Linked DNA regions of Homo sapiens: all the other regions are linked to region 3. Evidence: promoter capture Hi-C in 16 types of primary human blood cells and fetal thymus (Javierre and others, 2016). All regions are on one chromosome and are shown on one strand. Each heading gives the region's core, a stretch centred on a gene start or on the middle of the fragment in contact. The rest is flanking DNA. Distances are from core to core; before and after follow the strand shown.

Region 1 (3,088 bases), core at 239-2,738, 280 kb after region 3:
GCACTGGACAAGTATAAAAAACACACAGGAGCTGGGCGTGGTGGCTCACGCCTGTAATCCCAGCACTTTGGGAGGCCGAGGTGGGCAGATCACGAGGTCAAGAGATCGAGACCATCCTGGCCAACATGGTGAAACCCCACCTCTAAGAAAATTACAAAAATTAGCTGGGTGTGGTGGCGCACCCCTGTAGTCCCAGCTACTCGGGAGGCTGAGGCTGGAGAATCACTTACCCAGGAGGCGGAGATTGCAGTGAGCTGAGATTGTGGTACTGCACTCCAGTCTGGCAACAGAGCGAGACTCTGTCTCAAAACAAAACAAACAAACAAACAATAACAACAACAAAATAGGAAAGTTATAGGCATCTCCCTTGAGCTCCAGACTCATGTACTAAACTGCCTATCCATCATCTCCCTTTGGATGTCCAATAGGCTTCTCAAACATAATGTGACCAGCACTGATTGCCTGATCCTCTCCTCCTGCATACCTGGTCCCTTTGAAGTAAATGGCAGTACATGACAATTCCCATGTGGCTGAGGCAGAAACCTTTTTTTAGAAAACATTAGATTCAGGGGATATATGTGCAGATTTGTTACATGGATATATTGTGTGATGCTGAAGTTTGGGCTTCTATTGATTCCATCACCCAAACGGTGAACATAGCACCTGGTAGGTAGTTTTTCAACCCTTGCCCTCCTCCTTCCCTCCCACCTTTTGGAGTCCCCAGTGTCTATTGCTCCCATCCTTATATCTGTGTTTACCCAATATTTAGCTGCTGTTTATAAGTGAGAACATGTGGTATTCGGTTTTCTGTTTGTGTTAATTCACTCAGGATAATGGCCTCTAGCTGCATCCATGTTGCTGCAAAGGACACAATTTCATTTATTTTATGGCTACATAGTACTCTATGGTGTACATATACCACATTTTCTTTGTCCAGTCACACTGATGGGCACCAAGGCTGATGTGATTCCATGTCTTTGCTGTTGTGAACAGTGCTGCGATGAACATGCGAGTGCATGTGTCTTTTTGGTAGAACGATTTATTTTCTTTTGGATACATACCCAGTAATGGGATTGCTGGGTCAAGTTGTAATTCTATTTTCAGTTATTTGAGAAATCTCCAAACTTCTTTCTACAGGAGCTGAGCTAATTTACAATCCCACCAACAGTGTATGAGTGTTTTTTTTCTCTCTGCAACCTCGCCAACATCTGTTATTTTTGACTTTTTAATAGGAACCAGTCTGACTGGTGTGAGATGGTATCTCATTGTGGTTTTGATTTGCATTTCTCTGATTAGCGATGTTGAGCATTTTTTCATATGTTTGTTGGCCACTCATATGTCTTCTTTTGAGAAGTGTCTGTTTATGTCCTTTGTCTAGTTTTTAATGGGGTTGTTTGTTTTTTTCCTTGTTGATGAGTTTAAGTTCCTAATAGATTCCAGATATTAATTAGTCCTTTGTTGTTTGCATAGTTTGCCTCTATTTTCTCCCATTCTGTGGGTTGTCTGTTTACTCTGTTGATGGCTTCTTTTGATGTGTAGAAGCTGTTTAGTTTAATCAGGTCCTACTTGTCAATTTTTGGTTTTGTTGCATTTGCTTTTGAGGACTTAGTTATAAATTATTTACCTTGGCCAATGGCCAGAAGAGTATTTCTTAAGTTTGATTCTAGGATTTTTATAGTTTATGGTCTTACATTTAAGTCTTTATTCCACCTTGTGTTAATTTTTGTATGCGGTAACAGGTAGAGGTTGAATTTCATTCTTCTGCATATGGTTAGCCAGTTTTCCCAGCAGCATTTATTGAGTAGGGTGTCCTATTGGGTATTCCCCATTGTTTATTTTTGTCCACTTTGCTGAAGATCAGTTGGTTGTAGGTGTACAGTTTTATTTCAGGGGTCTCTATTCTGTTCCATTGGTCTATGTGTCTGTATTTATTTTTGTACCAGCACCATGCTCTTTTGGTTACTGTGCCCTTGTAGTATAATTTGATGTCAGGTAATGTGACGCCTCTGGCTTTGTTCTTTTTGCCCAGGATTGCTTTGGTTATTCTGGCCGTTTTTTGATTCCATATTGATACGGTTTGGCTGTGTTCCCACCCAAATCTCATCTTCAATTTTAGTTCCCATAATCCCCACATGTCATGGGAGGGACCTGGTGGGAGGTAATTTAATCATGGGGGCGGGTTTTTCCCATGCTGTTCTCATGATAGTAAGTTTTATAATATCTGATGGTTTTATAACGGTGAGTTTCCCTACACACGCTCTCTCTTGCCTGCCACCATGTGAAACATTCCTTTGCTCCTCCTTCACCTTCGACCATGACTGTGAGGCCTCCCCAGTCATGTGGAACTGTAAGTCCATTAAACCTCTTTTTCTTTATAAATTACCCAGTTTTGGGTATGTCTTCATTAGCAGAGTGAGAACAGGCTAATACACATATGAATTTTAAGATTATTTTTTCTAATTATTTGAAAAATGATGTTGGCATTTTGATAGGAATTGCATTGAATTTGTAGATTGCTTTGGGCAGTATGGTCGTTTTCACAATATTGGTTCTTTCAATCCATCAGCATGGAATGTTTTTTTCATTTGTTTGTGTCTTCTCTGATTTCATTGAGCAGTGTTTTGTAGTTCTCCTTGTAGACACCTTTCACCTCTTTGGTTAGCTGTGTTCCTAGGTATTTTATTCTTTTTTTGGCTATTATAAATGGGGTTGTGTTCTCCATTTGGTTCTCAGCTTGAATGTTATTGACATATAGAAATGTTACTGATTTTTGTACATTGGTTTGTATCCTAAAACTTTACTGAGGTTGTTTATCAGATCTAGCAGTCTTTAGGTGAAATCTTTAGAATTTTCTAGGTGTAGAGTCATATTGTCAATGAATAGAGATAATTCGATGTTCTTTTTTTGTTTTGAGACAGAGTCTCACTCTGTCAGCCAGGCTGGAGTGCAGTGGCGTGATCTCAGCTCACTGCAAGCTCCGCCTCCTGGGTTCCCGCCATTCTCCTGCCTCAGCCTCCAGAGTAGCTGGGACTACAGGTGCCCACCACCACGACTGGCTAATTTTTTTGTATTTTTTAGTGGAGACGGG
Region 2 (3,163 bases), core at 279-2,778, 270 kb before region 3:
GACAAGATCTCATTGTGTCACCCAGGCTGGAGTGCAGCAGTGCAATCATGGCTCACTGCAGCCTCAACCTCCTAGGCGCAAGCAATCCTCCCTCTTCAGCCTTCGGAGTAACTGGGACTACAGGCACGCACCAGCACACCCAACTAATTTTCATATTTTTTTTATTTCATAGAGATGGGGTCCTCCTTATGTTGCCCAGGCTGGTCTGGATCTCCTGGGCTCAAGCAATCATCCTGCCTCGGCCTCCCAAAGTGCTGGCAAGCCACCTTACCTAGCAGTGATCTCATTTTGTTTGAGAGTTAGGTGTTCCTTTCTCAGCATCTTCATAAACCCCTGGCCCCTGCCAAGCAGTGAAAGCATCTCCTTCCTCTTTCGCAGCTGCCTCTCCTCTCACCCTTTCCTCCTTTCCTGTGGGCACCATATCCATACAGTGGATGGGGGTGAAGACTGCCTCTTAGCCACAGCCACATACATGTACCCCAGATCCTTGTTTCTGTCAGATGGCCAATGGGGTATAGTGGAGTCAAATCAACTTGGGTGCAGATCTCGGCCCAAGTCATGTTAGTACATGACTTGTTAGGTGTCCTTAGATAAGTTAGGTGTCCTTAGGTAAGTTACTTTCTCTGACTTCAGTGTCCTCATCTGGAAAGTGATGATAACAATAGTAATCAGGTAGGGATGCTATGAGGATTAGTAGTCCTTGTAAGTATGTGACCCAGTGCCTAATATACACTCTCCCTTCTTTCATGGCCTGAAACCTCCACCATTAAGTCTAGATGGGCAACAACTTGAGCAAGCACTGTTGGAAAGGCAGCAAGCATCCCAGCTCTTCTGCTCAGAAGCTGAGTAAATGCCAGACAAGTCTTTTAACCTCCCTGAACTGAGCCTTGTTTTTCTCATCTCTGCAATGGGACCTTGATCCTCCTATGGTTGCTGGGATGATCCAGTGAAATAACACATGAGAAAGGACTTTTGGAAAATGTCAAGCACTCTGCAAATATTAGTTGTTGCTCTGGTCTCAGAAAGGCCATCAAGCCCTCTCCTGTTGGTATGGTTCCTTGGGTCCATTGGTCTCTCATCCTGGAAATCACAGAAAGCTTGGCTTCTCGAAGGTGAGACAGAGCTAAAGGCCATCCAGTGGGGAGGGGGTGGAGAGAGGAATACTGGCAACATGCCATGGGTGGCCGGGGGCAGGCCCGAACTGATGGGGTGCTGGAGGAGGATGGAGGGGCACAGCATGGGGAACTGCCAAAGAGATATCTAACCTTTTGAACTATTTTCTGGGCGAGCTTCAGCAAGCCCCCAACCCCCTGCATGTGCTCTTAGCTGACAGGGGGATTTCTTTTCCCTAGGAAACATTAACTGGCATCTTTCTATAGATGAGGCATGAATGTGCTTTTGTTGGAGGCCGATGGGGGAGGGTAGAAGTGCAAAAAAAGGAGACAAATACATCTGTAACCTCTGGAGCATGCCCCAGTGGATGATGGGAAAAGTTTAAAAGAAACCTGTTTTCAACTAGCTGGACTGTCCCATCTGCATCTAAGATCCACACACAAAGCTGACACAGAGAATGGCAAAGGAGGACAGAGACAAAGAGAAACTCACACACAGAAAGAAGCAGCAAGGGAGACAGAGAAACTTACACTGATGGATAATTAACCATTAAGTTAACTGGCAGAAGATAGAAGCTCAGAAGCCCTAAGGAAGAAATGATGTCATTCTGACTGCAGGCAGCTTCCAAGGAACACTTAGCTCAGCCTCCATCCACTTGATAATGTAACACAGGAAGGTATTTTTTTTCCCCCAGTGATCAGTAGAGGAACAGAAACTCACAGTCCTGAGCTGTACCTGCCCATAGCCACAGCTGACCTGCAGTTTGTCTTGTCCCCAGGGCTGGGGCACAGGGAGTGCCCAGCCTGTGGGAGGAACCAAACTATTATAGACAGAAGTGAAGCTTCCATGCAAATATACAAAGAATGATTCAAAAATTAGTTTCTTAGCCTCCCCTCTACTACATACCCTCCCTCTCTACACACACACACACACCCCTATTCGGCATTTTCCAATGCATTTAGGAGACAGACTCAATAAATTTAGCTACATCTGTAGGTGACAGACACATCATAGTCATTAAGGGAAGCTCCACTCTTCCTTTGGGGGCTGGGGGATGCCTCCACCCTTCCTAGGCTGATGTCAGGAAAGACTGTCAGCTATCTCTTATGATGTCCCTCTGGATTCTTGTCATAGGTGGCCTTGTGGGTTGGATGGACCATGGAGCTAGGCTGGAGAGAGGATTTTGTGCCAGGCAGCATGATGTGTGGAAAGAGCACCAGAAAGGGAATTAGGAGACATGAGTTCTAGGCCTGGCCCTGTGTGATCTTGGGCAAGTCACTTTCCCTCTCTGAGTCTCAGTTTCCTATCTGCAAGAGGAGGACACTGGATCACAGAATCTGTAACATCTCTTTTATCTCTGAACATTTTCTGCATCTCACACCTGAGTTGAGATAATCAAGGTGCAAAAAGTAAACCCAGGGCTCCCGCCTGTAATCCCAGCACTTTGGGAGGTCGAGGCAGGTGGATCACCTGAGGTCAGGAGTTCGAGACCAGCCTGGCTAACATGGTGAAACCCCATCTCTACTAAAAATATAAAAATTAGCTGGGCATCATGGCAGGTGCCTATAATCCCAGCTACTCAGGAGGCTGAGGCAGGAGAACTGCTTGAACCCAGGAGGCCGAGGTTGCAGTGAGCTGAGATCGTGCCATTGCACTCCAGCTTGGGCAACAAGAGTGAAACTCCCTCTCAAAAAAAAAAAAAAAAAAAAAGTAAACCCAGTTGAGTTCTGTGTGTCCTGGATACAAATTGAAGGAGACATCTGAAAGGCTCCTGGGGGCCTTGGGCTATAACCCTAAGTCCCTGGCCTAGAAGAAAGAGCAAGACTGGCTGCCTGGCATTCTATCTCCCCCTGTCAAACTCCCCCAATCTAGGGGACTGAATATTGTCCTGTAGAGTGAAATGCAGTGGTAAAGGGCATGGTCTCTGAATCTGGGTTGAAATCGTGGCCCTGTAACAGGAAAGGTAGGATAGTGAGGTGGCGAAGTGCTTGGGCTCAAGAGTCAAAGGCTGAAGCTCAGATCCATGTGCCACTGGGTTATTTCATCTCTC
Region 3 (3,074 bases), core at 71-2,570:
TCTACCCTAATTTTGAAGGCAGTTTAGCAATTGTCACCCACCTCATCTTCACTCTCACTCAAGAGGTAGTCTTTTGGCAAATCCGCTAGTTCTTCCTGTTGGCTCAAAGCCAGAAGGCTGTTAAAAGAGGCAACAGAGAAATGTGAATGCAATATACCCATGTAACAAACCTGCATATGTATCCCTTAATTATAATAAAAGTCGAAATTAAAAAAAGAAATATTATTATTTGAAGCAATGTCTAATCTATTAAAACAATCTCGAAAACATTGTAATTTCAGCACAGAATAGCCCTATCCCTCAGAAGATATATAAAGCAGCGTGAATGCCTTTGGAAACTTGTCAAGATGTGAAATTTAGACTGAAGTCAGGCATCACCTCCAAGAGTGATGCCTGACTTCAAAACTGCATGTAAAAGAGCTATCACTTTTCAGGGATTGGCACAACATTTCCTATGACCTATGGGAAGCTGTAAAAATGTCAGACCCTAGAATAATATGGCCAAAGACGCTGTTGCTAGCTAGCCCTGGAGGCAAGGCAGTTTCACGATTAATATTTCTAAGCATCCTCCATATATTTGACTCATTGATAGGCAGCCTAATCAAAAGTGTTATCTTGATCCTTGTTCCCAGGAATGGAGAAACAGGTCGAAAGCAGCTGGGTAAGCCACTTTCCCTGGGGCTTGCTTAGTAAAGTAGGTGCTTAACTAAGGAGATTGGTACCCACAAACAAATTATAAAATGTACCATTACCTAACAGCATATATTATTAGTATTTGCAAAGCCAACATTACTAAACGGACTACATTTAGTTCCGGGGGCGGGGTGGGGGGGGCACAAAACATCACAGGAGCCAAAACGTGGTGGATGACTCCAATCAGCAAAGCTTTCCAAGATTCGGGGAGTTTATAACGCCTGCACTGCCTGCGCAGAGGATTAAATCGGGCCGCGACAGAGGCAGAAAAAGGGGCCACGTGACGAAAAATGTGAAACACAGTAAATGAGCTGGGGAGGCAGAAACAGCATCAGGACCAACAGGGATGCGGCTATACAGCTGAGGAGCGGAGTAAGCGAATGAAATTAAATTAAAAGGGCTTTAAAGGCTGGATCGCGGAAAATAGGAACGAATGGCCAGCTCTTCAGGGGAACCACTGCCATCTGTTAAAGGGGGGGCTCCCATTTCCCAAAAGCTGGGGAACCCGGCCCCCAACGAGACCCAGAATCCCCCCTCCCCTCGTTGCCCTTCACCTCTCTGCAAGCCGGTTCGCAGTCATTTCAGCAGCCAGCTTCTCTCACATGGACCAAGAACGGAAGCCGAAGGAAAGCAATTTCCGTGCGGGCCGCAAAGCAATTTCTGTTTCCGTCAATCGCTCGCGACGTACACGTCACTTCCGTTCCGTACGAGGCGTGAGAGAAGCAGGAGCCGTGTAGGGAGGGGCCTGCAGAAAACTGGGAGGCCTGAGATGAAACGGCTGTCAGCGGGTGGGGCATTCCTTTCTCCACCCACCCCGTATTTCTCTGGCGCGCGGGTGTCTGTCCTCCTGGCCCCTGGTTTCCACGTGGCCCAAGGTGGGTTAGCTTAGGGCGACGGTGCTGCGCTCTCAGGGGCTGAGCCCGCGCCTTCATTCGTCACTGCAGAATCCAGAAGGAAAGACTACAGCGCCCGTCCTTGTGCGACGGCGTCCTGCAAGCCGACCACAAGCCAGCTCGGGGGTTTATTGAATGCCTATTAAGTGGCCAGATTGTGCCGGGCCCCGGAGATCCGATGGTGAACATAACAAGTTTCCTTCCATTTAAGGAAAAATCGCCTTTGATCCCTTGTAATTGCAGCTTTGTTCTTCATTTCCTGAGTCAAAAGATTTTTTTTATCCAAGAAGGGGCCATCAGTAACTACGCTTCCTCACCTCCCATCAACTTAAAAAAATTTTTTTAAACAACTTTTTTTCTCCCATCAACTTTTAAGAATTTTATTTATTTATTTTTGAGACAGAGCCTTGCTGTGTCGTTCAGGCTGGAGTGCAATGGCGTGATCTCAGCTCACTGCAACCTCCACCTCCCGGGTTCAAGCGATTCTCCTGCCTCAGCCTCCCGAGTCGCTAGGATTACAGGCACCCGCCACCATGCTCGGCTAATATTTGCATTTTTAGTAGAGACGGGGTTTTGCCACGTTGGCCAGGCTGGTCTAGAATTCCTGGCCTCAAGTGATCTGCCCGCCTCGGCCTCCCAAAGTGCTGAGATTACAGGTGTGAGCCACCGGGCCCGGCCTAATATATATATATATTAATTAATGATTGTAGAAAAATAATAGACAAGAACATTCTTTTCATTTTTTTTTTTTGAGACGGAGTCTCACTCCGTCGCCCACGCTGGAATGCAGTGGTGCGATCTCAGCTCACTGCAAGCTCCGCCTCCCGGGTTCACACCATTCACCTGCCTCAGCTTCCTGAGTAGCTGGGACTACAGGCGCCTGCCACCACACCCGGCTAATTTTTTTTTTTTTTTTAAGTAGAGACGGGGTTTCACCGTGTTAGCCAGGATGGTCTCGATCTCGTGACCTCATGATCCACCCGTCTCGGCCTCCCAAAGTGCTAGGATTACAGGCGTGAGCCACGGCGCCCGGCCCGTTCTTTTCATTCTTGTAATCCATTCCCATTTTGCTTTTGCCCCATTATTCCACAGAAATTGCTCTGGACAAGATCAGCGACACCCAAAGTTGCTAAATAAAACGGATACCTCTCAGTCTTTGGCTTCCCAGAACTTTGTGTGGCATTTAGTAACTGTTGATTTCTTTTCTTTTCTTTTCTTTTCTTTTCTTTTCTTTTTTTTGAGACGGAGTTTCGCTCTTGTTGCCAAGGCTGGAGTGCAGTGGCGCGATCTTGGCTCACTGTAACCTCCGCCTCCTGGGTTCAAGTGATTCTCCTGCCTCAGCCTCCCGTGTAGCTGGGATTACAGGCATGCGCCACCACGCCTGGCTAATTTTTGTTTTTTTTTTTTTTTTGAGACGGAGTCTCGCTCTGTCACCCAGGCTGGAGTGCAGTGGCACAATCTCAGCTCACTGCAACCTCTGCCTCCCTG

Evidence for each region. The method cuts DNA at HindIII sites, captures the fragments that hold promoters and counts their contacts. A CHiCAGO score of 5 or more calls a contact.
Region 1: a fragment that was not itself captured here is called in contact with the fragment with the promoter of UTP14A in region 3 in 15 of 17 cell types (activated CD4 T cells, naive CD4 T cells, non-activated CD4 T cells and 12 more); the score reaches 20.1 in activated CD4 T cells.
Region 2: a fragment that was not itself captured here is called in contact with the fragment with the promoter of UTP14A in region 3 in 10 of 17 cell types (activated CD4 T cells, naive CD8 T cells, total B cells and 7 more); the score reaches 10.6 in activated CD4 T cells.

The regions. Positions count from the first base shown.
Region 1 is chrX:129,624,365-129,627,452 of GRCh38, reverse strand. No RefSeq gene overlaps it. Among named protein-coding and RNA genes, the nearest start is that of APLN, 29 kb to the left of the region's middle. The HindIII fragment of the contact is 5,685 bases long and covers 1-3,088 here.
Region 2 is chrX:130,175,153-130,178,315 of GRCh38, reverse strand. All of the region lies in intron 1 of RAB33A (RAB33A, member RAS oncogene family), which reads right to left. Among named protein-coding and RNA genes, the nearest start is that of RAB33A, 4.8 kb to the right of the region's middle. RefSeq lists an enhancer at 1,665-1,734. The HindIII fragment of the contact is 857 bases long and covers 1,100-1,956 here.
Region 3 is chrX:129,904,410-129,907,483 of GRCh38, reverse strand. UTP14A (UTP14A small subunit processome component) reads right to left here and starts at 1,320. Exons shown (of 15, transcript NM_006649.4): 1 at 1,248-1,320; 2 at 42-117. The coding sequence starts at 1,273. It overlaps LOC105373335 (a long non-coding RNA gene), which reads left to right. Exons shown (of 3, transcript NR_188631.1): 3 at 1-220. The HindIII fragment of the contact is 20,573 bases long and covers 888-3,074 here.